Regions from separate parts of the Homo sapiens genome. Here all the other regions are linked to region 1. Evidence: promoter capture Hi-C in 16 types of primary human blood cells and fetal thymus (Javierre and others, 2016). All regions are on one chromosome and are shown on one strand. The core of a region is centred on a gene start or on the middle of the fragment in contact, and the rest is flanking DNA. Distances in the headings are between cores, read along the strand shown.

What was found. Contacts are between HindIII fragments. The CHiCAGO score rates a contact against its expected background, and 5 or more counts as called.
Region 2: a fragment that was not itself captured here is called in contact with the fragment with the promoter of LINC02880 in region 1 in 11 of 17 cell types (M0 macrophages, M2 macrophages, M1 macrophages and 8 more); the score reaches 48.2 in M0 macrophages.
Region 3: a contact is called between a fragment that was not itself captured here and the fragment with the promoter of LINC02880 in region 1, in 10 of 17 cell types (neutrophils, total B cells, naive B cells and 7 more). The highest score is 17.7, in neutrophils.
Region 4: a contact is called between a fragment that was not itself captured here and the fragment with the promoter of LINC02880 in region 1, in 7 of 17 cell types (monocytes, neutrophils, M1 macrophages and 4 more). The highest score is 7.4, in monocytes.
Region 5: a fragment that was not itself captured here is called in contact with the fragment with the promoter of LINC02880 in region 1 in 4 of 17 cell types (M1 macrophages, naive B cells, total B cells and 1 more); the score reaches 5.8 in M1 macrophages.
Region 6: a fragment that was not itself captured here is called in contact with the fragment with the promoter of LINC02880 in region 1 in 3 of 17 cell types (total B cells, M1 macrophages and M0 macrophages); the score reaches 5.8 in total B cells.
Region 7: a contact is called between a fragment that was not itself captured here and the fragment with the promoter of LINC02880 in region 1, in 2 of 17 cell types (M0 macrophages and M1 macrophages). The highest score is 8.0, in M0 macrophages.

The regions. Positions count from the first base shown.
Region 1 is chr6:113,902,342-113,906,280 of GRCh38, forward strand. LINC02880 (long intergenic non-protein coding RNA 2880) reads left to right here and starts at 2,046. Exons shown (of 4, transcript NR_027060.1): 1 at 2,046-2,403. The HindIII fragment of the contact is 3,143 bases long and covers 1-2,516 here.
Region 2 is chr6:112,781,109-112,785,047 of GRCh38, forward strand. The region is part of intron 1 of LOC107986634 (a long non-coding RNA gene); the gene reads right to left. Among named protein-coding and RNA genes, the nearest start is that of RFPL4B, 440 kb to the left of the region's middle. The HindIII fragment of the contact is 1,015 bases long and covers 1,464-2,478 here.
Region 3 is chr6:112,798,631-112,802,569 of GRCh38, forward strand. All of the region lies in intron 1 of LOC107986634 (a long non-coding RNA gene), which reads right to left. Among named protein-coding and RNA genes, the nearest start is that of RFPL4B, 450 kb to the left of the region's middle. The HindIII fragment of the contact is 2,337 bases long and covers 632-2,968 here.
Region 4 is chr6:112,823,007-112,826,945 of GRCh38, forward strand. All of the region lies in intron 1 of LOC107986634 (a long non-coding RNA gene), which reads right to left. Among named protein-coding and RNA genes, the nearest start is that of RFPL4B, 480 kb to the left of the region's middle. The HindIII fragment of the contact is 1,275 bases long and covers 1,033-2,307 here.
Region 5 is chr6:112,841,226-112,845,164 of GRCh38, forward strand. The region is part of intron 1 of LOC107986634 (a long non-coding RNA gene); the gene reads right to left. Among named protein-coding and RNA genes, the nearest start is that of RFPL4B, 500 kb to the left of the region's middle. The HindIII fragment of the contact is 3,040 bases long and covers 583-3,622 here.
Region 6 is chr6:112,861,314-112,865,252 of GRCh38, forward strand. No RefSeq gene overlaps it. Among named protein-coding and RNA genes, the nearest start is that of RFPL4B, 520 kb to the left of the region's middle. The HindIII fragment of the contact is 608 bases long and covers 1,959-2,566 here.
Region 7 is chr6:112,878,799-112,882,737 of GRCh38, forward strand. It overlaps LOC105377950 (a long non-coding RNA gene), which reads left to right and starts at 1,319. Exons shown (of 4, transcript XR_942885.3): 1 at 1,319-2,040. RefSeq lists an enhancer at 1,341-1,869. The HindIII fragment of the contact is 1,446 bases long and covers 978-2,423 here.

The DNA.
Region 1 (3,939 bases), core at 796-3,295:
CACTATTACTCTGGACTTATCATTGCGATTTGTCACTGACACACGGATATCATGTCCCAGGGAACTTCTTTTTTTATAAACTCATTATAAACCCATAAATTTACATTTAATTGATGTGCTTTAACTTATTGCAGTTATTATTTCCGATATTCAAATGGGAATCCCTGAAAATTGGCTCTTGACTCTTTGTGACACAACCATGGTAGTCTTCAACAGTATACTTGTTTTCAGGTAGGACCACGTGTTAAAGGTGCATCTTGCACATCTTTCACTAAGACCTGCAGCTCGGTATTTCTCTAAGGAGCCCCGACTCGTAGGGGAGCATTATCTGTGTGTTAGGGATGATCATTGCTAACAGGTTGTTCTTTGTTTCTAGGCCTTTTCAGGGAACAAAGCTAGGAGATTAGGGGTAGGTTAATGAATGGATCTGTAGATAGATAGATAGATAGATAGATAGATAGATAGATAGATAGATAGATAGATAATGTAGATAAAACATCATATTTATAATTGAATGTTTCCAATTCAAAGTCTGATTCAGGACTATAGGGCTTTTATTTGACCCCACTTAAATTTACATCTCTTTTCAACCTAAATTTCTGGTTCCCAACAACACCTACATATTACTCACTTGTTTTATACTGGGAAACATATACAATAGTCTCAGAATAATAATAGGAAAACTTTCCATGACGATGTAATTACTGGAAACATTTGAAGTTTGTGTCTGTGTGTGTGTGTGTGTGTGTGTTTTTGCAGTTCCTTTTGTTCTAAGGGTATATCCCACTTGAGGTCTACAGTCAATTCCCAGGTTTTAATGTCACTTGAAATACTTTCTCCCAAGAGGATGTGCCACCAACTCAATATCTAGTTAGGTTTGACTTTTTTCATTTTGTTTTGAGTTTTAACGATTATATCTTAATATTTATCAACTATATATTTTGGAAATCTTTTCATACTTGCATGTAGAGATATTCTTCTTCTTTTTTTTACAGCTGTGTACTACTGCATTGTGTGAATGTACCATAGTTGAGGGTCCCCTATTGATGGACATTTGAGTTTTTTCTAATACACAAATTGTGCTGTGATAGGTGGCCTTGTGAATACATCTTTCCATTTCTGTCAGTGCATCTTTGGGATAAATTAGAAACTGTAATGCTAAATCAAAAGTAGCCAGTAGAATGTCTTTTTGCTTGAATAATCATAATATTTATCCTGTGCTCTAAGGGTGAAATGATGCCACCTCTTCCCCAAGTGCAGGGAATGAAGAGATGAGCCTTTGGCCCCTGATATGTCAACAATTATCTCTCCTAGAAGACCAACTGAGCTCTCTTACCAGTAGACTTTCTGGAAGAACATCCAAACATGTCCTGATAGAAACAAAGCCAGATCTTGTCTCAGAAGAAAAAAAAAAAAATAGGGGCAAAAATATTCTACACAGATCACAAAAGTTTTCTTAGGAAACCATGCTCCCCCTGGACAGCTCCCCAGGAAGGTAACCCTTGGCGTTGATCTTGCGATTGGAAGGGTGTTCATTTTTTAATTATGCTGACAGACATTCAGTGAGAACTGTACTTCCCGAGGGCTAGTGAGCAGGGGGAGGTTTTCCCTGTTGTGCTCAGGCAGGACGTTCCAGGGATCTGGGGAGGCCCTGACATAACTGCACGTTCACACGGCTGCCCCTCCCTCCTCCTCCCTCTGTCTTCTCCAAAACAAATGACCTCGCTGGGATCCTGTTTGCCTTTTACTGACTTCCTGGACCAAAGCAGTGTGCCTGTGAGTGCAACAGCTGATCCCTTTCGGAGTGGAGTTTCCTAGCTGGTGCCTGTCCTCTCTTGAGCCTTTGTTTCTTGAGTGAGCACTCACTGGGGCTGTGGCTCCATGAACTGGATTTCAGGAAACCAGCCAAGGCATTCTCTCTCTCTCTCCATTCCTAGAAAGGCAGAAAGCCTGGGAATGGGTTCGGCAGGAAGATCTCTGTACCTCAATCTCCATTGCTTTCAGCACCACTGGCTTTCTCCCCAGCTCAAGTGCAAAACCTGCCATCGTTGCTACCTGGGGTGCCTCAGACTCACCCAAGTCCCCCAGGCCAGAGGACATGCTCTCAAGCCTTGTTTCAGAAAGAGGGACCCAAAGGCTGTTAGGGAAGAGAACCAGGGTCCTCAAACCCAGGGTTTTCTCACCCACTGCCTCTGCTCTGGCTGTGGCCTGCCAGACCTCTCCTCTGATTTTCGCTTTCCTTCCTGCCAGTGCCTTTGTTTATCCGAGGCGCCAAGATCCCACTGTGAAGTCTGAAAGGAAGACCAGTGGTTCTCGCTTTTCCTCTAGATGCTGTGTCTCCCAATGTCATCTTCTTTCCTCTCAAAGACAATTGGACGTTGTTACAGATTTTCTTGGAATGAGGTGAGTGGACGTTGTTTTTCCCTAGGAATGTTCTCCTGTGCTTCAGAGACATATTTAGAAGGGCATAAGAACAAGAGGAATTAGTGTGGGTCCCTGCCACTGGCACCCCTCCAAGCTTGGCTTTACCCCTTCATGTCAACACCATTTCCTCCCAGGCTTTTCACAGCTTTACAGCCCATCTCAAGTCTTTAACTGCTAAGTGAGCTTTAAAGAAAAGAAAAATCTTCAAAGGCTCCACCAAAGGAAAGAACGGGGCACCTCACATTCGGCCTAAGACAGGAGTGAAAAGACAGGAGATTTGACATTCGCATGGCTGTTCTCTATCCCACCCACTTACAACTTTATACTTATCCTCCCGAAGTCTCAATCCAGCTTCAATTTTATCTGAAAAGGGTCATTTGGGATACAAAAAGCTGCTCCTCCAATGCCACCAAACAACTGCTGGTGCCCTCTATTAACCATCTGAGAAAGCCTAAACATCTCTCCAGCACAAGTAGACCAGGAATTCCCAGCCCCCATCCCATATAAAATCCAAACGATGACAGTAATTGAATGACACAGTGTATTCAATAACCCCACCGTACCTTCCTTCTCACTTCCAGGGGTGATCACATTGACATCTCACCTCATCCGTGGGCTGCCCACAGCCTGGCTATGTCCAGGACTTCTGGTCTCTCTCTCTCTCTCTCTCTAAAAGATAGGGTCTCGTTATGTTGCCCAGGATAGATGTGAACTCCTGGGCTCAAGCGACCCTCTCCTCTCAGCCTCCCAAGGAGTTGTGACTACAGTCTCACACCACCATGCCCAGCTAAGCTCACTGCACATGTCAATGTCTTATCTCCCGGCCCTTCCCTTCTTCCGTTTGTCCTCCCCTCCCCTGTTCTCACTATTCACCTTTCCTTCAGTTGCCCACCTACTTCCATGTTCGGAGGCCAGTGCTCTTTGGATCTGACATGTTGTGTGTGGGTCCCAATGGTTCATAGAAGGCCAGAGGGTCAGACACTTCTGCTCAGTAAGGGGAAGGATGAGAGGATCCATCTTGATCCTTCCCATCAAGGGCTATGGCAACAATTTGTACAAAGAAACCCAAAATAAAGCAACTCCCAAGAGGAGGGAAAAAAGAAGGTAGCTCCAATTTGCTTCAATGTGGGAGAATGCGATGAACAAAGACCTACTAGTGGGAAGCTGAGAAACTCTGTGAGGGCTCCTGACTTGGAGCAGGATGGGTGGATTGCGGGGAGAGTGACCTTGCCCCTGGCCTAGTAGGGCACTATGAGCTGAGGAAAATGGCCATGAGGCTTTGTCTGGCCTAGGTTTCTCAGAATTATAATGGTTTTCATTCCTTACAAGGGAAGTCTAAAATTGGGAAAAGAGAAGCAAAGAGATGCTGTCTAAATCCTAAACGTTAGCAAGAGTTTTCTGGTCTAGAAACTGTGACTCAGATGTGGTAGAGATGAGATGGATATGTGGCCGTGGTTGCATCCACCGGAAGATGCAGCCACAGGACCAGGGACAGAAGGCCTCACATGGAGGGCC
Region 2 (3,939 bases), core at 721-3,220, 1.1 Mb before region 1:
TTTATAATATAATAAAATTATTAAATCTGCCAAATAACAGAAATACTTTCCCATGTTAGCACTTTAAATATTTTTAATTCTTTATATATTTGAGACTTATAGAGTGAAACAAAAATACAAAGAAAAATTTTATTAGTTGAATCAAAGCCTTAAGTTCATGATTTGTAAGGGGAGGAAGCACAAAAAAGTATCTGACTTTTTGATAGACTTGACACAGAAGTCAATGGAGACTTGCAGTTTACGTCAGGGTTTCTCAATCTTGGCATTGTTTACATTTGGAGACAGACAATTCTTTGTCATGGGGGGCTGTGCATTGTAGGATGTGTAGCAGTATCCTTAGTCTCTACCCACTAGATGCCAGTAGCACTCCCCCACCCCACTCCCAGTTTGTAACAACCAGAAATGTCTCCAGACACTGCCAAATATCCCTTGGAGGACAAAATTGCTCCTGAGTGAGAACCATTGGTCTATAGTTATGTATTTTTTTATACACAAAGGAAGAAGTATGTTGGAAGCGTGTCCTGTGATAAGCTATTCATAAAAATAGTAAGAGTTTGTTTTCTAATTAATTAATGTCCCAGAGGACCTAGAAACTTTGAGTATTCATCAACATAGACACAGTAACTCATCTCTATCACTTCAATACACCAAGGCATGCATATATTGTCTTCATCAAGTTTACATGCATGTTTCTTGTTTGAAATAACTGACTACTGTTTAAAGCTTTATCAAACAATGTAATGGTTAATGGAGTACCTACCATATTAAAATATTTGGGATTATACCTATTATGTATGCTTTCAGAAGATTACTGGAACATAATCTTCAAATAATAGTGGTTAATGAATTTTCTGGTGCTTTTTTAGGTATTTACTTAGAATAACATTGGAATCACTCACCATATTCTTCAATTTGAAGATTAATAATACTCTTGGAATATGACAAAAAATACACTATTCATGGGGTTTACATATTTTGGAGAACTAAAAATGTTATGCATCAATTTACATCAGATGCCTAGGGCATCTCTTTGCATAGCATGTTAGAATTTGAAGAGACATGCGAAATAATCTTACGTCCGGCCACTTTAGTGGTTTTGAAACTGAGGCTTACGGAGGTTAAATAGTGTCCTCAAAATAGCACAGCGAGAGAAAGTTCTGTGACTAGATCCCAGGTGTCTGGAATGCTTTCCAGTGGCTTCTTCGCCATGTCATGCTTATGGTGGAAGATGGCATCTCAGCTCTGGGTCTACATTTAATCTATTTCTGTATTTTGAATTTAATAATATCAATGCATAAAATACTGGCTTGCCTAGTTATATTATCAAAATATCGTTTAAAACCTTAAGACCCTGTTTGTTAGTTCAGGTCCACCAGACTGCCTACTTAAATAAAACAAGTAAAAATGATGGTGAGAAATTCTTAAGTACCTGTTTGATGAAATATCACTTGATAATTCTGGAAAGCTTTCCTGTTTATTTGAATATTATAGCATTGCTGAAATTGGAATTAAATGAATGCCTGATGTTGATTTTCTTAAAAAAAGAAAAATTCTGTTGCATATTTATTGCTACACTTATTTGTAATAAAGTGTGATAAATTCTCTCAAACATGACTACAAGGCCTGCCATAGCATGTGTTTTGTCATTGCTGTTCAAGTTTACCAGGTGCTGTGTGATAGTTCAATTACCCAATACCTATTTATAAAATCAAAATATTGCAAAATGTTTGTTCCTTCAGCTTTGGGCTCAATTATAAGAAATGCGAAAGCTGAAATTCTTTTGAGATATTTGATTAAAATAGGACCATCAGATAATCCACAACATAAATAAAGTATTTTTTGATGTTCATCAAAATAAAAATTGATAAAAAGTACTCTTGTCGGGATGCTGCAGACCTAGGAAGGTGGTCTCAGTTTGAGATGAGCTATTCTAATAACAATTCCTTGCCATTTATAAAGAATGATAAAACTGGCTCTGACCATTGAAATCACCCTTTGAAACCTTCTAACCCACTAAAACAATCCCTTTTTCATTCTATTCAAGATACTCTAACTGAAAAGTGTTTTGACTATCCCTATATAGAGTTCATATAACCTCAACTTCAAATGTTATGTGTTTATCATCTAGTGGTCTTTATTATATTATAGAAAAAGGGGACACTAAAAACATAATAAATATTAGTTTGAAACGGGCAGGGAGAAATTGAAAAAAGATTTTTAAAAGATGCAATGACTGTGTAGACAACTCCAACATACCGTTTCCAAATCTAATACCATAATTCTGCTTTTAATTAGACTATTCTTGGATCAATCACAATATATTTATTTCAAGTCAGAGCTAAATACCTATGTCCTATATGTGTTACGGTACTTGATGTAATGGTGTTGAGGCTAGAAAATGAACCCTAACATGATCACAACTTTAATGAGTGTGAGCTGAAAAAGCTGCTACTTAATGCTGGTCTTTCTACAAGTGGAAGCTTGAAGTTTGCTTCTGTTAATTTGGGAAAAAAAAATCTTAATTTTTTTAAGTTAAACAAATGAAAAGTAATTATCCACCAATATTATTCATGAAGAAAACTGTTAAGTGATCTTAGAAGAAAATGAGATGCTTAAAAATTAATGTATATAGGTGGAATCAGAACTGTAACTCTGTAGATTTTTTTTCATTTATTTGTTTTCAATGGGACATTGGAATTTGACCTTGTGATCTCATTATATTCTTCCAGATTGGGAGGGACCCCAATCTGTTAACCCCATTCCAAGAAGAAAGCAGTTTCAGAAATAGTTCCTTCAAGTGGATGTGAATGAGAAAGCTTCATGTAAAATGCATCATTGTAGAACTATCACAACAGAGAATGAACATCTATGTCTCTCTCTATTGCACTGTAATACTATGAGGCTGGGCATTAGCTTTTTAGATGTTATAGGGATGTGGAAATTGTGAACTAAATTGTGAACTGAACTGCTGAACTGCAATCTGTGAGCCCAGTGAAGGTAAGCTACATTTATAGTATCCTGGGGGTCAAGAGAAAACTGGAAGAATCAAGGCATCTCTTTGAATCCTTGCTACTGCATTTACTAGCTGAGGCATTAAGTCATTTAAATTTACTGAACATCAAGTTCCACGTATGTAAAATAAGGAATACAATACTTGACTAAGAGATTTCTTGGTAAACAAACAAGCAAAAGGGCTCAAAAGATGGGAAGTATTAGAAAACTTATGTGCATGCTAAATATCAAACCAAACCCACCTCATCATGTCTAGTACATCTGTATGAGGAAATTCATTTGTTCTCTCTCTCTGTGTGTCTCTCTCTCCTTCATCAGTTCATTGATGTGAGCATCCATCTCTCTCCAATAGAACCTTGGATTCTATTTTTTAGCTTTGCCTCCTCTCAGGTGACTTCTGAGCCTCTGACAGGCCCCTTGGCACAATTTTACTTCCCTATTGGCTTGGAAATAGTGTAACCTACTCTTGTGACAGACACCAAAGTGCCTACACAGTAGAGAGCATTCAGGTGGCTATCACAAGGAACTAAATACACAGAGGCTGGTGCTAGACCCAATGTATGGATAACTGGCTCTTTTCACTCTACTTTTGGCTAGTGAACACAGCTGTCAACTGATACTTCATTCGAGACCTGATAGACCTGATGTTTGATTGTCTTGGCCACGTTGATAATGTCAATTCATTCATTACTGGGAAACAGGAAGATAAACTTTTTACTTTCCCTTTCATAAATTTGAAATTTTTTGTTATCATTGATTTCTGCAGATACAGAGAAAGAAAAGACTTCTTTGAACTCTTTGAATAAGAACAGAATTCCCTTCTACCCTGTTTCTGACTTAATACTCCAATAAAAGCTAACCTTTTAACAACAGCAGCTGATATTTACATAAGATTCACCATGTGTAAGTTCTAGAACCAGTTAGTTC
Region 3 (3,939 bases), core at 550-3,049, 1.1 Mb before region 1:
GACCTAAAGAAACTGTGAGATAACTAATTTGTTTTTGTTTTTGTTTTGAGACAGAATCTTGCTCTGTCACCCAAGCTGGAGTGCAATGGCACAATCTTGGCTCACTGCAACCTCTGCCTCCCGGGTTCAAGTGATTCTCCTGTCTCAACCTCCTGAGTAGCTGGGACTACAGGTGTGAGCCACCGCATCTGGTTAATTTTTTTATTTTTATAGTAGAGATGAGGTTTCACCATATTGGCCAGGCTGGTCTTGAACTCCTGACCTTGTGATCTGTTACAGGCGTGAGCCACTGCACCCACCCTAATTTGTATTTTTTTTTTTTTTTTTTGAGACAGAATCTTGCTCTGTCACCAGGTTGGAGTGCAGTGGCGCGATCTCCACTGACTGCAACCTCAGCCTCCCAGGTTCAAGCAGTTGTCCTGCCTCTGCCTCCAAGCAGCTGGAACTACAGGTGTGCACCACCACGCCCAGTTAATTTTTGTATTTTTAGTAGAGACAGGGTTTCATTACGTTGGCCAGGATGGTCTTGATCTCTTGACCTCATGATCTGCCCACCTCAGCCTCCCAAAGTTCTGGGATTACAGGCGTGAGCCACCACGCTGGGACTAATTTGTATTTTTTAATGTTGCTAAGCTTGTGGCAATTTCTTATGCAGCAACAGGAAACTAATGCTGCTTGGAAGTGACTTACTTCACTTTTGCCTACACTGCATTAAACAAAGTTTAATCATTCAAGCCCATCTAACTGCAAGACATTGGAAAATGTAGATTAATTTGTTCCTAGGAACAAAAGGAAATGAACTGTTGAGCACATAGGAGTGACTTTGCTATTGTTATTTATTTTAGCCAAAGATAACCAAGTCATATTCTCTGGGGCCTTTAAAATATACATGCTGATACATTGCAGTATTTAATATGATTCACTCATTTTGTTTTCTCACAATAATGATAAATGTAATGTCAACCTTATTTAATGTTTAGGCCTGATTTTCATCTGAATATATCAGATGAACTTCAACAAGTTATTTTGCCACTCCATTTCATTTCTGCTTCTATATAAAATAGCAGATGGGTAATCCAAATCACACATAAAAGGACAGACACTGAACCTTTAATAGAACATCTGAGAAGGAGAGCTTAGGTACTGGCTTAACAGACATGGAAATTAAAACTATTCCTTCTTGGGTCATGTCAATGACCATATCAATACACTCTGATATTCTCAATGGGAAAATCAATATAACAAATGCTTGGGTTCATTATTCTCTCTCTGCCTTTCTTTTAAGAAATGTTTCTGACATAAATTTAATGTATAGTTAACACACTGAAATGTAATGTGATGGTAGCTTTTTGCTTATTTTGTTCTGAATATTCTACACAGATCTTATCCACAAAAATATTTTTTATCAACTACAGATGCTCACCCTCCAACTGACGTTTTTGTCTTCAGTTCTAGACCTGTGTTTTCAGTTTCTTAATCAACATTTTTACCTAGTTATATGAAACTGTTTCAGACCTAATAATATTTCAAAAATTGTACTCACCATATTTCAACCCAAACTCACTTCCAAACCTTGTATTTCTTATCTTAAAGAATCATATCACATTCATTCAGTTCCAAGTTGGAAATTTGAGGGTAATCTTAAACTCTTCTTTTTCTCTTATGTCATCCAATCTGTCACCTAGTCCCATCTTCTCTATGTTCCACATAGCATTCAGATCTTTCCTCTGCTCCCCATTTCAACTAGATTTCATTAGCTCAGACCTGCCTTATTTCTCTAAAATACTAGAACAGCTTTTTAATTAATTTCCCCAACCCCAGTCGGATTATCAGCCACATAGTTGTGAGAGTGATATTTCTAAAATGCAAGTCTTATTAACACATGCTTAAAATCATTTAGTGGCTCCTTTTTGAAGTTAGGTAAAAGTCCAAAGTTTTAGATATTTACCAGGGCCCTTATTATCTGTACCCTACTTACATTTCCATCTAATCTTTTGCTACAACCTCAAGAGATCACTCTTAACCAGCTTTATAGAAATTCTTGCAGTTTTCTGATGAGGCATACTCTCTGGCACCTTTGAGTCATTTCAGTATCTTTTTGTTAATTTACATTTCAAACTTCTTGAATAATAATTGCTATTAAAGACTTTAAATTGTATCTTTTCTTTGAAGACTTTGTTAACTTTCTTGGATAAAGTGAGGTGCTCTTGAGAAATTTTGTAACTATGGGCCTCTACCATGATCACCTTTCCAATTATGTTCTTATTGCCAGTTTTTAAATGTCTCCTACAGTTGCTAGATGTTTTGGGGGGTGAGGCCTACCACTCATTTAATCTCCATGTACTCAGACAATAGCTTAACACATAAAACATGGGAGACACTCAAAATTGTTCTATGAGTGGACAAATAAGTGAACCACAGGGAGGGAGTTAATTTGAGAGGAAGTTGTGGGATATAATTCAAAACACATAGTAACTAAATGTTTGAGAAAAAGAATTGTGGTAGTTTATTCTACTTTCTTTTTTTTGGTCTTGACTTTCAGAATGATGTTTTCTTCTTTATACTTCCCCAGAGACAACACGTAATAGGTAATTCTGTATTGAATAATAACCAGAATGCAAAATTATTATATTACTTTTTAAAAAATTGCTGTTCATAACAAAAAGTAACAGACAAAGATTTGAATGAATCTTTTGAAATTTTATGTAATTTCTATTTAGACTAATTTATATATAAAGAAGGGAATAAGTAATTTTTTTCCATTCAAAAGAACTAAATATTTCAAGCAAACATTTTAGGATAAATGATCAACATCTAAAATTCCTTAAAAAAGTGAACTATGCAATGCAGTTCTTCAGGAGGGGCTTTTTTCTTATATTTAATTTCACTCAGGAAGATATGGTAAATTATTGTCAGGTTTAGTTAAATTCTGTAAAAGGCCTTTTTCAGGAAGACAGGCATTATAGCAAGCTTGTATTTCTTCCTTGATTCTGGAAATTGATACACTGAAAGCAGTTCATAACAGTAAAGCTGTATCTAAGTTTATGTTTTTACCAAACTCAACCCTCTGTAACATAGTCCCCAAAACAAATAATAGGGAAAATAGTTTATAAACAATCATGTTTGCACTGGAATCCATGAAAGCTACAGTTTCAATAGTTCTAAGATTCATTATACAGGTTTTAGAGATAGAGACACACAGACACAGAGAGAGACAGAGAGGGGAAGAGAGAGAAAAAGAGAGCGAGAGCACGAGAGAGAGAGAGGGGAGAGGGTTGGGAGAGGGAGAGAACGACTAAAATGTGCACTTATATGTATGTGTTTATGCCTAATTGCCTTATCTTTGTATGAATAATCTATAAAGTCAAGCTTATCATTTCAGTGATTCCTTTAATCATGCACAGTATCAGTTAAATAAAAATTTGGCCTTTCCCCTTACTTTCTATCTATAGAATTTGAGCTGTATAAAAGTGAAATTTTACTCAAGGATTAACCAATTAAATATCCATCTTCTTCATTTGAACTGATTCAATATACCAGAATTGGAAGAAGCCTGAAAATCCCTTCATGGCTTTTGTTATTGTATCAGGCCTTTTGATTTTATAAGCTCTGGATTTTTATCTTAAGTTTGAATACAAAGAGCAACTTAGACTCATAATGTGCCCTGTGAAATCCCACATGTGTTTTCCTCCTCTGTGCCTCATTTTCCTGCATTCCTAGTATATGATGAATCCTGTTCTCAGTTTACAGGGATGTGGACTATTTTGGGTTATGTCCAAGCATTTAACATGCTAGAAAAGGCAGCAGTGTTTTAAAGGGCTTCTTCATCAGAAGACCTCTGAGATTTCGTAGCTACACAGAAATGAAAGTTATTCTCACTCAAAGTAAATTACTTCACATTGAATTTCTCATTTATCTAAAATTTCCATTCATCTTTAA
Region 4 (3,939 bases), core at 420-2,919, 1.1 Mb before region 1:
TTGACCAACATCTCCCCATTTTCTCTCTCTGGTAACCACCATTCTGATTCTGCTTCACAGATTTGTCTTTCTGTCTGACTTATTTCACTTAGCATAATGTCCTCATTGTTCATCCATGCTGTCACAAGTGACAGGATTTTCTTCTTTTTTATGGCTGAATTATATTTCATTATATAAATATACCACAATATTTTTATTAATCCATCCACCTACAGACACTTGAGTTGCTTCTATGTCTTGGCTTTTGTAAATACTGCTACAGTGAGGTTAGGTGCTGTGTCTCACCTCTATAATCCCAGCACTTTGGGAGGCTGAGGTGAGAGGATTGCTTGAGACCAGCCAGGGAAAAATAGTAAGACCTCATCTAAATTAGTTGGGCATGATGTTGTGTGGCTGTAGTCTCAGCTACTCAGCTGGCTGACATGGGAGGATCACCTGAGCCAAGGAGTTCAAGGCTAAAGTGAGCTGTGACTGCACTCCACACTTGGTGACAGAGCAAGGCCCTGTCTCTAAATAAAGAAAGAAAAATCTATAATAAACACTGGAGTGCAGATATCTCTTTGAGATACTAATTTTGTTTCCCTCAAGTATATATCCTGAAGTGAGATTGCTGAATCCTATGATAATTGCATTTTCAATTTTTTGAGGACCCTCCTTACTGCCTTCCATAGCAGCTTTACTGATTTTCATTCCCGCCAACAGTGCACAAAAGTTCCCTTTTCTTTACTTCCTTCTGCCACTTGTTATCACTTGTCTTTTTGATAACAGCCATCCCAGGTGTGAGGTCTGTTTGATAAACAGTGTTGGGAAAACTGGATATCCATATGCAAAAGAATAAAATTGAACCCCTATTTTACACCACTCAAAAAAGTTAACTTGAAATGTAAGCCTCAAAACCATGAACCTCTTTGAAGAAAACATTAAGAAAATTCTCCATAACACTGATCTTGGCAATGATATTTTTGTATATGACCCCCAAAGCACAAGCAACAAGAAAAATAAGTAAGTAAGTGGAACTACATCAAATTAATAAGCTTCTGTACAGCAAAGAAAATGATCAACAAAATGAAATTGAAACCTATGAAATGGGAGAAAATATTTGCAAATCATAATCTGATAAAAGGTTAATATTCAAACTATACAAGGAATTCATGCAATTGAATAACAATAAAGCAATCTGATTTTAAAATGGCCAAAGGACCTGTATAGACATTTCTCCAAAGAAGACATACAAATGGCCAACAGGTACATGAAAAAGTGTTCAAATTCACTAATTGTCAGGATTTTCAAATTTTTCATAAAAATTTCAAATATTCATGAAGTTAATAACAGTGTAATGAGCCTCGATATTCCCATCACTCAAATTCAACGAGATTTTGCCACACTGACTATCCTTTTTCATTTATTATTGTTAAATTTATGAGAACTAAATGAAACTGAGGGCATGCAATACTTAGCGGAGTTCCTGGTACAGAGTGAATGCATAATATGCAGTTTCTATTTAAAGTTATTCATCCATAAAATAGGGATAATATTACCTAATACGGAGTAATTTTTGAAAAATTAAATCCCAAAAAAGTAGAGGTGGCAGTTCTTTTTAATTTGAAAAGTGAAATAACATGGCACAGATAATTAGTATGATTAAAGAGGATCACTGTTAATCACAGAAAAGGAGAAGCAAATAATAGTATATCTCTATGCCTGCAACAAAGAGGAGAGTGTTCTACTCCTATGCACATAGGGGAAAAGAAAACTGACGTGAACACAGAAAGATTGGTAGTTGCCAAAGATAAATTACCCAAGGCCTATTGTTGAGTAGAATTGACCCTAAGAGGCAGAACTTAATAATTGTCCTCCCTTTTAGGATGAGTAAATCTCACCATTGGGACGTCTTGGATAATATACGTAAGAGAAAAGTTTTCAATGTCCTGACCTCCCCTGCTCCTTTTCCTTTACTGTATTACCTGAAGAAGCACAGCCCACTGAAGATTGTCACCTTTCACAGTTCACCTTACCCAGGTTCCCTGTAGGACACAGCAATACTGATGGTTTATTTTCTGATAAGCTCACCTTCTTGCCTGTCCTGACATAACATTGCCCAGGTGGCCCTCCTGCCACTATGGCTTCTCATTTCAGGCCTTGACCCACTTTTCGTCTTCCCACCCCAAATGAGGGCATCACAGCTCCTCTCTTGGTCTGTCTTTCTCTACTCTCTACATCCTCTCCACTGGCATTATCCATCTATTCTCCAGCTTTCAAAAAATTATAACTAAACAGATGATTCTCAAATCTACCTGAGTCTACTCAAGCTTCACTCTTATAGTCCCCAAGGCCACCTAGACTATTCCATTTGGAAATTTCTGATACTTCAAACAAACTCCATAACTCTCCATCAGAAATTATTAGTTTTCTTCTCCCAACTTCCTTAAGTGTGAATTCAGATTTTTAAAAATTGTATGCTAAACTCATATTTTTAAATAATAATTCTTTCTAGAAGGTGCTTTAAATGAGATAGATTTAAGTTTAAATCATATTTAAGCCACTTGTATCAAAAGGCTATAAGGAGCTCTGGACTTAATGAACCTAAGTTTCCCCACATATAAAGTAGAGGTGATATACATCTGGAAAAGTTGTGAAGACTAGGCATAACATATATAAGCATGTAAAGCAATGTTTGACATATAATGGTACATAATGAATAAATTAATTAATTTGAAGCTACTTGTTTAAATTAGTTATAAATTTAAGTTTCATTTTAAGTCACTGAGTATTTGGTACCATGATTCTTAAAATAGAATATTCTATTTATCAATGGTTAGTTGATATTTTTCTTCAATAACCATATTGAATGGTGCTACATGAGTAAACATCTCTGCAGAAAACATGTGAATGTTGCTAAATTGAAAAATTTAGCAAAATGTTTGCTATTGAATCATAGCAAAAATTTACCAGCCTAAGAATTATGGTTTATCATCCACGACAACTATGACCTTTGTACATCTCCTTGCTGCTCATGAAGATCCATCCAAGATAATTAGAAAAAGTAGTGGAACCACTTGAACAAGATAGCATGCACCAATAAGGTGCCAATGAAATGTGTTCCTGACAGGAAAGAAGTTACAAATGTAATTGAACCACTACTCTCTGAAATGCCCTCTTATAAAAAAAAAGTAAATAAGTAAGTAGATAGTGAAGGGAGTGGTGAGGATGGTGGTGGTGAGGAGGGTAGAACAGGTGGTGGGAGGGATGAGTGGCTAAGGTGGTGAAAAAGGGGGAGATTTGTGGAGGAGGAACAAGTGAGGGAGAGTAAGAAGAGGGAGATGGTGAAGAATGGGGTAGAGGAGGGGGTTTTCAAGGAAGGGGAGATTATGGAGGGAGGGGAGATATGGAAGAAAAGAAGGTTATGTAGATTAGTGTGGAGCGGGTGATGGTAGATCCAGAAGGTATTAAAAGCTACAAAAAGTAAATAACAGCTTGTTTGTTGATAGACACATCAGGCATGGCATTCTATAAATAAGATCATCTTTGAAGCAAACACCGCCTTAGACCCCTTAATGATATCATTCTTGAACCAGTTACTATGGAAGCACAGTGATTTGTATTACCATTTGTCTTTTAGAGGTGATCTCCCTCCCACCCATATTCTATGCGTGGGAGATATTCTTGAACATATTGTATCTTTTAAAGGACAAAACAAATAGCAAACATAATTGTTTAAATGTAAATATTTATTATGGTTGGAAAATGAAAACTGTTTAGAATTTTTAGTCCAGATTTTGTGTTTATGAGACAAGTTAGTATTTTAAGTGACTCCTAATCAGGAAGCAGAATATTGGATATTCTTCTGATGCTTGATACTAATGCTGGTAAGGATAGAAAAACTTCACTCTTGGGGTCTCCTTCGGTTAAAGTCTCCTAACTCTAAACTTCAAATTTATT
Region 5 (3,939 bases), core at 853-3,352, 1.1 Mb before region 1:
TTACTCATAACTGACATTTGTTTAATATTTTAGAAAGGATGCATTTTTATTTATCTAACTTTATTGACACATTTCTGAGGAGGTAGAGTACATATCTGTAGCTCCATTGTATAGATAGGAACTGAGGCTCAGAGAGGTTTGATAACTGCCTCTATTCACGTCTATTAGTTTTTCTACAGCCTTAGTTACATCTATTATTTTGGCTCTAGAGCTATTCTTAAATTCGCTGTAGCCCTGATTTCAACCACACATTTTTGCATTATTAGTAAACCTTTACTTACAGGTAATGACCTACACATAGGAAACACTAAAGTCTGATTTAAAACCAGGTTTTCAGGGCTCCAAACTCTGAGTTTCTCATACTTCACCATATTGTATCCTACAATTTGGCCTTCATGTAAACATACCTTGACCCACGAAACTGTGAAACTGAGGAACTCCACTAAAATCTTACCAAAATAAGTTAATGGCTGCAGAAGACTACATAGAGCTGAGCTAACACACTTTGCCCTTCAATGCTTGCTTCACACTGTGATGTCCTTCCTCTTTTTGAGCCTCTTCTGAACATTTCTCTAATATTGAAGCTTAGTTGCTTTGGATGCTAACATAGTGCACCTTGGGAAAACTTTGATTGCTACAAAGTGCATTCTCATCTTGAGTCAAATTCTGTCTTTCTAATCGCAATTTATTAGACCAAAAGGTCCTAGCTCCACCTTTTGGGCTTAAATAAAACAAAGATTATCTCTGTTTCTCTTTTAAAAAAATACTTGCAAAAAACTATCACTCATTGAATGGCTTAGTCTCTGAGCAAAATATTGCCCGTCCGTTCACCCAGTCCTAATAGTGGAAAGTTTTCAGTTCCTTCTCCACCTCAGATAGTTTCCTCTGTATAGGCTTTGCTGAATCTACATAGCTCCTATTTTAAGGTTTCCAGCTCTAAGCACAATATTTCTGGTATGGTTATATTGAAAAAAAAAGAGCAAAGCCTTTTCTGGACACACTGGTATCTGTTTCTGTTTTCTATCATCTCATCTCTCTCATGTCATGCATCACTCACACAGAGCTCATGGCAAGCACAGATTCCTGCTGGTTCCCTCATGTCCTGCTGTAAAGTCATGTTTTCCCCTGACTCTTCTACTAGCATGTTTATTTTGAATTTAAATCAATTTTCATTTATTAAAATTCATCTTGTTTAGCAACATCATAGAGCATACATTTTGAAGTCAGATTTGGTATGGAAGCAGCTGCTCAACATTCAACAAAATCCATTTCCTCTTCTTCCTGGGCACACATATAGGTCACATGGATGTTTCCTACAGCTGCTGTACAAAGAAGCATACATTAGGTGGTTTGAAACAGAAATTGATTCTTTCACAGTTCTGGAGGTTAGAAGCCTGAAATCAAGGTATTGGCAGGTTTGGTTCATTCTGAGGGCTATGAGGGAAAAGCTGTTCCATGCCTCTCTCCTAGCTTCTGGTGGTTGCCAGAAGTCTTTGGCATTTCTTAGCTTGTAGGTGCATCTCTCCAATCTCTGCCTCCATGATCATGTCGCGTTCTATTTGTGTGTTTACATGGCCATCTTCTTCTAAGGATACCAGTCATACTGGACTAGGGACCAACCTTAATCCTGTTGTATGATCTCACCCTAACATAACTATAATAACAATATCTGCAATAACCTTATGTCCAAATAAGGTCACATTTTAAGGTGTTGTATGTTAGGATTTCAATGTTATTTTTTGAAAGGCACAATTTATTTTTTATTTATGTTTTTTATTTATTATGTATTTAGTTTTTCTTCAACTTTTATTTAAGTTCTGGGGTACATTTGTTGGATGTGCAGGTTTCTTACATAGGTAAACGTGTGCCATGGTGGTTTGCTGCACAGGTCAACTCATCACCTAGGTATTAAGCCCAGCATCCATTAGCTAATTTTTCTGATGCTCTCCCTCCGCCTAGTGTTCTTACCGTTCAGCTCTCACTTGTAAGTGAGAACATGTAGTGTTTGCTTTTCTGTTTCTGTGTTAGTTTGCTGAGGATAACAGCTTCGAATTCCATCCATGTCCCTGCAAAGGACATGATCTAGTTCCTTTTTATGGCTGCATAGTATTCCATGGTGTATATATACCACAGTGTCTTTATCCAGTCTGTCATTGATGGGCATTTGGATTGATTCCATGCCTTTGCTATTGTGCATAATGCTGCAGTGAACATACATGTGCATGTGTCTCTACAATAGAATGATTTATATTCTTTATAAATCATTACTGGGTGTATATACATACACCCAGTAATGGGATTGCTGGATCTAATGGTGTTTCTGTCTCTAGATCTTTCAGGAATCACCACACTGTCTTCCACAATGATTGAACTAATTTAAATTCCCATCAACTGTGTAAAAGCATTACTTTTTCTCTGCGGCTTCTCCAGCAACTGTTGTTTCTTGACTTTTTAATAATAGCCCTTCTGACTGGTGGGAGATGGTATCTCATTGTGATTTTGATTTGCATTTCTCTAATGATCAGTGAAGTAGAGCTTTTTCTCATGTTTCTTGGCCACATAAATGTCTTCTTTGGAGAAGTGTCTGTTCATGTCTTATGTCCAGTTTTTAATGGTTTTTTTTTTTTCTTGCAAATTTGTTTAAGTTTTTGTAGACTATGGATATTAGACCTTTGTCACATGGATAGATTGCAGAATTTTTTTCCCATTCTGTAGGTTGTCTATTCACTCTGATGATAGTTTATTTTGCTGTGCAGAAGCTCTTTAGTTTAATTAGATCCCATTTGTCAATGTTTGCTTTTGTTGCAATTGCTTTTGGCATTTTCGTCATGAAATCTTTGCCTGCAAGGCACAATTTAACTCATAATAACCATACTACCCAAACTTTCCTGCAGTTACATGTAGTTATATAAATTATATTACTGAGTTCTAGCTAGTGGAATGTGAGTGTATGTAACACTTCCACACTTGATTCACAAAAATATCCCATGCTCTTTTTTCCATTTTGTTGGCTAGATACAGCAATGAGAATGGAGAGCCACAGATGGAAAGGACCTGGGTCTCTGACTGCCTTTTGAGGACGGCCACCTCTTAGAGACCAATACTTGCCTTAGTTAAATGAGCTGAACATAGATGTATTTTATATTGAGCCATTATGCTTTAAAAAAATTATGGACTTTCCAAATCCTAACTAAATACTTGGATTGACTTCAATTCTATCATTAACCAGATGTGTGAACTTGGGTGTTATTTAAACTTTCAAAGTCTGTATACTTTTCATAAGAAGAGATGCAATACCTATCATTCAACCAGTTATGCTGAGTCCCTATTAGGTATCAGGACCATGGTTCTGTACAATGAAAATAAAGATCCCTTTCCTCAGGTAACCTACATTCTTCTGAGGGAGATGAATGCTAAACATGTAATCAAATATATAAATATAGAATGTCTAGAATGTCCATAGAGATATAGACTAAAAAATGATCAAGATTTACATAGATTAACTGGGAGGGAGGCTCTAATAAGGTACAGTAGTCAAGAAGGCCTCTCAGGTATGGGAAGGGGCTGGATGTGAGACAAATGGTGAGCAAAAGCCATCCATGTAAAGGGTGCTCTAGGGACAAGCTTTGGCAAGTTGAAGGAATTAAACCAAAACTAGTGTGATTAAAGCAAATGATAAAATGTCTGGAGCATAGGAAATAAGAAAGAAGAGAAATATGAGATGAAGTCAAACTGTAGGCAGGATGTATGTTATATAGGCTTATAGCTCATTACAAGATTTTGGTTCTATTCTAAGAGATTGGCAAACCAATTGGAGCATTTTATGATCTGATTTTTATTTTTAAAAGATTACTCTGATAACCATGTTTTCACTGGATAATAGGAAAAGCATGGAAGCATTTACTAGGCATTTGGAGTAATCCAGGTGAGAAATAATGG
Region 6 (3,939 bases), core at 1,013-3,512, 1.0 Mb before region 1:
AATAAAATAAAATAAAATAAAATAAAATAATATAAAATAAAATAAATAAAACAAAATAATATAATTTAAAAATTTTTAAAAATTAAAAAAATAAAAAAAAATCAAAGAGCAAATCTTGAAAGAAGCTGGAGAAAAGGAAAACCATACCTCTAACGGAATTTGCCTTCAGAAACCATACAATTAAGAAGAAAGCAGAGAGAAATATTTAACAGTTGAAAGAAAAAAAAAAGGCCACTAACCTAGAATTCTTTATCTAGTGAAATTATTCTTTAAAAGTAAAGGGCAAATACTTTCTTAGTCAAATAAAAATTCAGGAATTTTGTTGCCAGAAAGAAATGTTTAAAGATGCTCTTCAGAGAGGAGAAAGTGATATGGATCAGAAACTTGTATCTGCATAAAGAAAGGAATAATGTTAGGGAAGGAATAAACAAAGGTAAAATAAAATCATTAAAAAATGTGTACTGAGTGATTATTGCTTCTGGATAAGTGAAAGGAATGACAACAATATTATGAGGGAAAGAGGGATGAATTGAAGTGCTCTGTTTTAAAGTACCTGCGTCACCCATAAACTGTTCTTTGAAAGTGGACTTAGATTTTTTGGAAGTGTATATGGTAAATTCTAGGGCACTGAATAATTTTTTAAATGTATAGCTGATATGCTAAGAGAAAGGACAAAATGCAGTTATGTAAAATGTTCAATTAAAACCAGAGAAGGCAGAAAAGGACTGCAAGGCAAAAATGTTACAAAGAACAGATAACAAATAGAAAATAGTTGGGAATATGGTAGATATTAATCCAATTATATTATTAACCACTTCAAATGTGAGTGATCCAAATACTCCCATTAAAAGACAGATACTCTGACATTAAGTGTTCTTATCGCAATAATATGTAAATTTAAGAAGCTCAAGTATATGTTGTCTACAAGAAAATTGCTTTAAATGTAAAAATGAAGACAGATTAAAAGTGAACACATGGAAAAATATACCATATTAACACTAAAAGCCAGAATTGCAGAAAATATATATTCTATTTTTATACTGAAGGAGCTGAAGACACAATTTATACACTTTTGAACAACATAAAAGACTAGTGGTATATAAACCATTACAATCAGGTACAGTATTCCTCCCCTGATCCCTGTTTATTCCAGGGTATATGGTCCAAGACCCCCAGGGGATAACTGACATCTCATATAGTATGATACCAAACCCGATGGCCATCAGTCAGAACTAATTTCTGTTCAGATTTTCCATATGTTTAATTCCTTTTCCTTCCTAAGCATTGATCACGTCCTGTGGCCATAACTTTTGAAGTTTGAGGTAGGAGGTAAGCTAGCATGAATTTCTTTGTACTTCTTCACAATTTCATGAAGAGAAGATTCATTCTTACTGTAGATCTTAACAGCGTAAGTATATGATTTTTTTTTCTTTATTAAGTCGAGAGCTTTCACCTTTTCACTTAAAGGAGGCACTTTATGGCTTCTCTTTAGCACATCCAAATTGCCAGGATCATTACTCTTGCACTTTGGGCCCATTATTGAATGAAACAAGGGCTACTTGAGCACAAGACTGTGATACCAAGAGAGTGGATCAGATAATCTAGATGGCTACCAACTAACTAACAGGCAGCATCTACAGTGTGGATATACCGGACAAAGGGATGAGTCACGTGCCTGGTGGGAAGGAGAGGGACAGCACAGGATGGTGTGACATTTCATCACACTATGCAGAATGGCTTGCAATTTAAAACTGATGAGTTATTTCTGGAATTTTCCATTTAATATTTTTGGACCATGATTGCCCACAGGTAACTGAAATCACAAAAAGCAAAACCGCAGATAAGGGAAGACTACTGTAATTCCTTTCTTGGTGGTTCTAGGCCTCCACCTCCCAGAGATCACCATGCCCAGAGCCCTGGTTTCTTCTTCTCCAGAGGTCTTTATGATGCCCTGAGCAAGCTTCCATCATGGCCTGCATGTAAAGTTGCCCCTAGGCAACTTTTTGATCACTATGAGTTGATCATAATATAATAGGGACTAATAGGTAAAAAAGACGTGAGATCAATATTAAAGAAGATATTTCTCATGGTGACATCTGTCCAAAGATAAACTATTAAGCTACTTGTTGATTTTCTAAGTCTCTTGGTCTTGGAAGAGTCACATAGATTTTGAGACAGTTCATCAGGGGTGTCATATCAAATATTCAAATACTTGCCAGGGATGATTTGATTCATAGATTCGTAAGAACTTCTTAGTCCAACAGACAAAACACAAGTAGAACACTTGAAGTTAAACCTTTTCTGAAGATTTTTTCTTATAAAGTTTGTAGGTCTCTATGTCTACAATGACCTTATTTTTTCCAAAAAAGTCATCAGCAGTTTTTTAAATACAGGATAGAAATATTACTGCAGCCAGAGTGATATTTTTGAAATGCAAATTTGAATAGATCACCACATCCAGATTAAATATTTCAGACTATCCATTTCCTTCTATAATTAAAGAAAACAATCTTAGCAAAAGTTCGCTGTAGGGCCCTACCTATATTTCCAACTCTTGATCTCATGAAGCTTCTTAATATCTATGTTCCAACCATTCCTTACTACCTTTATTTTTGTATACATTATGCAGCTGCTTCTACCACAGGGCCTTTGCAATTGCTCCTACCACAGGGCTGCTGCCTAGAATACATTCTCCTACCATTTTTCTCTAGATTATTACTATTCCTTCTTCATATCTGAACCCAATTATCATTTACTCAAAGTTCTTCCTGATCTTTTTGACAATGTCAAATTCTTTTATTGTATTCCACTATAGTGCCTGCACTTTTCCTTCATGGCACTTATCAAAATTGTACTGTCATGTAATAGTGGTATGATCACTTAATTAATGTCTGCCTCTTACCATTTGAACTATAAACTCCACAAGGGCAAGGGCAGAATCTGTTTTCATGATTTATTCCCCTAAACTGGGACTGGAAATATTATTGAAATTCTTAAATAATTTTTAAAAGAGTGAATGAAAGAATGGTTCATTATACCTAAGAATAGAATCCCACTCATATTCCTTTTTAAATTTGTGGTTTCCTTTATTACAAAAAACTAGAGAGATTTCATTTAGCTCTGTATTTAATCAGAAGTTAGATAAGTAGCTGCCTGTGTGGTAACATTTCAACAAGGTCCTAATTCTTCTCTCTCTCCCCTCTGGCTGTTGGTTTAAATTCTAATTGGATAAATCTTCTTTACTTTAGTCTAAGGTTCTAAGCTCTATTAGGTTGAAATTCCTGTGAGGCAAGGGAAAGTTTGGCTTTATTGGGAGATTGCTGCTTAACTGGAGACAGCCTCACTGGGATAACCAGACGGGCCTTTAGTTCAGCTGTGGGTTGTTGCCTTTAAACTATTAACTTATAACACCTAAATCAATGTTTAAAATAACCTTATGTTGTCACTTATTTATTTACTTTATTATATATCCCAAATTAGAGAAGGCTTGGGCAGTGCTTGAATTCTGAAAGGGTCTTTCTGGGAAGCAAAGCTATAAAGGGATGCGGAAACGGCATGAGGCTCCTGGGTAGCCACAAGACCCTGGGGTAGGTGAAGAAGGATGTGTGTAAGACATGCTTTGTCATAGTCACAATTTTTTAGGGGCCATGAATCACTCATGTTGCTTTAAGTAAGGTGCTCCTTTATCCCTTACGTTTCCAGAGTAGCTTCCAGAATGAGAAAAGGATGACAAAAGGTCTCGCAAGTTCTGTGTTAGCAATTCATGTGTGATATCCTAGACTTCATGTACATGGAGACTACTTTACCCAATTAATGACTGAGCTAATTCATGAAATAGTAATAATGATAAAACTTCAATGTTTAATCTGTTTGATGCAGGACAGGTTCTTGGCTTCACTGGGGAAGAAATTCAAGAGCAAGCTGCTGGTAGAAGAAAAC
Region 7 (3,939 bases), core at 451-2,950, 1.0 Mb before region 1:
CTATGGACATGAGCAAAATAATATGGAACTACAGTTTTTAAAAATGGCCACACAGAAAACCACCTTAGATGAAATGAATATGTAACCTGCCGTCGATTTAAAAAAATTAAGCTCACTGTCTCATGTTGAAAGGTCACAATCATTAATCTATTTAAAGTTAGCAACGGCCCGTGTGTCATACACGATTGTGGACACCTGACCTTGATACCTGCCATTCCACTGCCTCCCACAAGCTGTAGACAATTTAGTACTCCATCTGACAGTGACTTCTTTGTCATTTCTGGCTATATTCTTCATTTTTCCTCCTCTTGCTCCCACTTTAGAAACTACCATGTCCTTTCTTTCCCTTTTATGCTTTCTTATGAAATTTTATATCCTTTAATATTGTAACTACGTATATCACATAAAAAATAAACAACAAAAATCTTGGAAGGTATTCTACAGAATAAAGACGTCAGTCAGTTTGAAAATATTAGATACTTAATACAGGTAACATCTTAAGATTTAAAGTTTAGACTTATACTATGTTTTTAAAGGGACACTGATCAAGGATCTGAACTAAATTATAATGTAGACACAAAAAGACATCGCTAATGTTTCTGTAACAAAATGTCCACTAACAAAACAAAAGGTATTTTGTCTTAAAATTTGCAATGCTTTATTTTAAACAGTACAATAGCAACAATTATGTACCGTGACACAATTATAAAAAATTATCATCAAAGATAATAAACATTAAGATATTGTTGAAGGGTATTATTAGCTGGATTGTGCCCCTCCTCACACACCAAATTCATATGTTGAAGTATTGGCCCCCAGTACTTTAGAATGTGACTGTGTTACAGGATATTTAGGGTGGAATATCTCTGTGGCAGGTGGAAACGTCTGTGGCAGGTGGTGCCTTTGCCCGAGTTCTTGTCCTGCATCCAGGAAGAATGAGGTATGGAAACAAGCGGAAGGGGAGCAAGATGAAGAGAAGCTTTATTGAGTGTTCTAACAGCTCAGAGGAGACCCGCAGGGGGCAACTCCTGAAGGAGGGGCCTTACCAGGGACCAACCCCCTTCGGCACAGGAATCTTTCTGCCTCCTGCAGCCATTCATGGCCCAAGGGCTGGGCCCCAACCCAGCTTTGAGATCCCAGCGGGTGCCAGGAGAGGAGAGAGACCGGGCAGCGGGATCAGATACCCCGGAGCCTGAAGAGACATGCGGGCCTTCCCAGCCGCCAGGGGGCAGGCAGCAGAGATGCGTGGGTCTGGCCGCTGCAGCTGCACCCAGGGAGCTCCAGCCCCATCAACTCGGAAGGGGCGGGGCTCCTGCTTGTTCCTGGCCCTTGCCTGCTCGTGGAGCGAGAGGGCCAGGTCAGCAGCAGCGGGTTGGGTGGCTGCAACTGCACCAGGGAGGGCAGATCCTGCCTGTTCCCAGCCCCTTCCAAGAGCACAGGAAGGCTCGGATCCACAGCTGCAGTTTTGGCTGATGTAGCCCCGCTACGTATTGCAGGAGGGTGGGGCTCCTGCCTGTTACGTGAAGCAGGGGGCCTGGATCTGCTGCCGAGGTTTGAGGTTTGGGCGGCTGCAGTGGCACCCGGGAAGTTTCTGCCCCAAATCAGAAGGAGTGGGGCTCCCACTGACTCCACAGAGTGTGCAGCCCCAGCCCTCCTCTCTGCTGCAGCCGGGGTAATGGCAGCAGCTGTTGCCATCAACTGCATTTGGAAATAGAACCTTAAAAGAGGTACTTAAGTTAAAATGTGGTTTTAGGGTGGGTTCTAACTCAATACCACTGTGCCCTTATAAAAAGAGGAGATTAGGACACAGTCGACAAAGAGGATGACCATGTGAGGACGCAGCAAAAAGGCGACCACCTGGGAGCCAAGGAGAGAGGCCTCAGAAGAAACAAAACCTGCCAACCCCTTGAACTCAGACTCTCAGCCTCCAAAATTGTGAGAAAATTCTTCTGTTGTTTAAACCATCCAGTCTGTAGCATTTTGCTATGGCAGCCGTAGAAAACTCATACAAAGGGTAACAGCAAGAGTCTATTTGTCAAGGTAAGGTGAAAGTTTGGAAAGGACATAGAGCTTGTTTCTTTCTTATTTTTTTTTTTCCCTTTAGGCATTCAGGGCTTGATAAGGCAAACTTTGCTCTTTAAAATATCAACATGTCTTTCAAGGTTCCCACTGAAAAGGTTATTTCATATTGTTCATTTTTGCCCATAATTTTTACTCACTTCAGAAAATAGGCTTTTTAGGAGCCTAGCATTTGCACTTAACTCTCTGAACAGGACTTAAAGAGTGTAACCAAAAGACAGAAAAAGATTACTCAGTATGGAACAAGCGAAACAAAAAAATAGTTGGGGGAGTAGGGTGGAGGATGAAAAAAATGCACAGCGAGGGGGTTGAGTCAGCTCCTGTGTTTCCATGGAGAGGACTTAAGCTTCTCCAGAAGTGTAGTGAAGGCCCCTAGTGATCCATAAAGGTCCTGTAGCTGGCTGCACAGGGGTGGCCAAGGACCAGGGTGTGACTGACAGGCGGCATCTTGCTGAATAGCATTTTTTCACTTGTATTGGTAATCCAAAAAGCACTTGCCAATTGACATACTTTAGGCTAAACAAGAGGCAGAGGTTGTTCTCAGAACTTTTAAAAATTATTATATTATTTCTTAAATTTGAACTTGTTTCCTGTTTTTCTGTGTAAGGTATAAGCTCCATCTCAAAAAAAAAAAAAGAAGAAAGAAAGAAATCTCTGCCATCAGAATTTGCTTAGAATTCTGCTATAGAATGTCCTTATTGATAACATAGAAATAGGATTAGGGATTATTTTAATAATAAAATAATAAACATATACTTTAAGAGTGATCTAAGGCTGCAAAATTTAAATTATATTGGCTGTCTAACTGACCTGGCTAAATACATTTTTTGATTATCAATACATAAATCATGGAGTTAAGTATGTATACAAATGCAGAATTAAGTTCTTCAGCCCTAAATATCTTTTGGTGAATCAATTTAAAATTGCCTTTCTAAATATTATTAGTTATTATTATTAAGCTATTAATATTTACAGTCTTTGCCACTTAGTAAAATGTGACTTTGTCTTAAAGTAGACCAACATGTTTTTATCCATCTGCCAGACTGCCAAATGGAATTTGATCTCTTGAGACACTGTACAATATTGGCCATTGCATTTGAATTAAAATTCTCCTGAAGCTAGTCACTGCATCACTCTTGGAAAAGTATTATCGAACTTAACTGAGCAACAGCACATCACAACACATGGCATTATAGAAAGCACAGAAGGATGCACTTATTCCTTCTAATTGGAAGTTTCAGAAACTGATATCACCCAACCTTTCCTTTTATTTTGAAGTTACATCACTACCCAAGCCTCTGTCTTTTTATTCATGGGTGTGCCTCCATTGTTGCTGGAACAAATCCAGTGCATTAGTGAAAACATTGCCCTCTTGATGAGACTCATCTAAACACATCTGTCATCCACACACATGTTAAAGCATATTCACAATGGCCAATCAGAAAACATTTCTACCTCCAGGGTGGTCAATATAGTTATGCTGATATTGCCCAATCACAGATCAACACTTTCGATCTTTTAATATCCTCCCTGAACAACCATATACTTATTGAATGTTTTTCAGACTGTGCTTAAGTTGTTGAGTCATTTAAAATATGTTTCCTGTCCTTTATTCTCTTATCCACTTTTCTTCTAAAGATGTCTGCATTCTAGCTCTTAATTTTATATTTCTTACTCCACTGAGGCATTCCACATAAATGTATCATCCAGTCTACTACCCTGTGTTTATTAAAATGTATTCTCTACTCCTTCAAAATACAATCTACCAAAGAAACTAACAGCTAACTAAAAAGAAGTGAGGCTAAAACTTTAGTGACCTCAAGACAAGTTAGAATTCTATGGCACTCTAAATCCCTATTG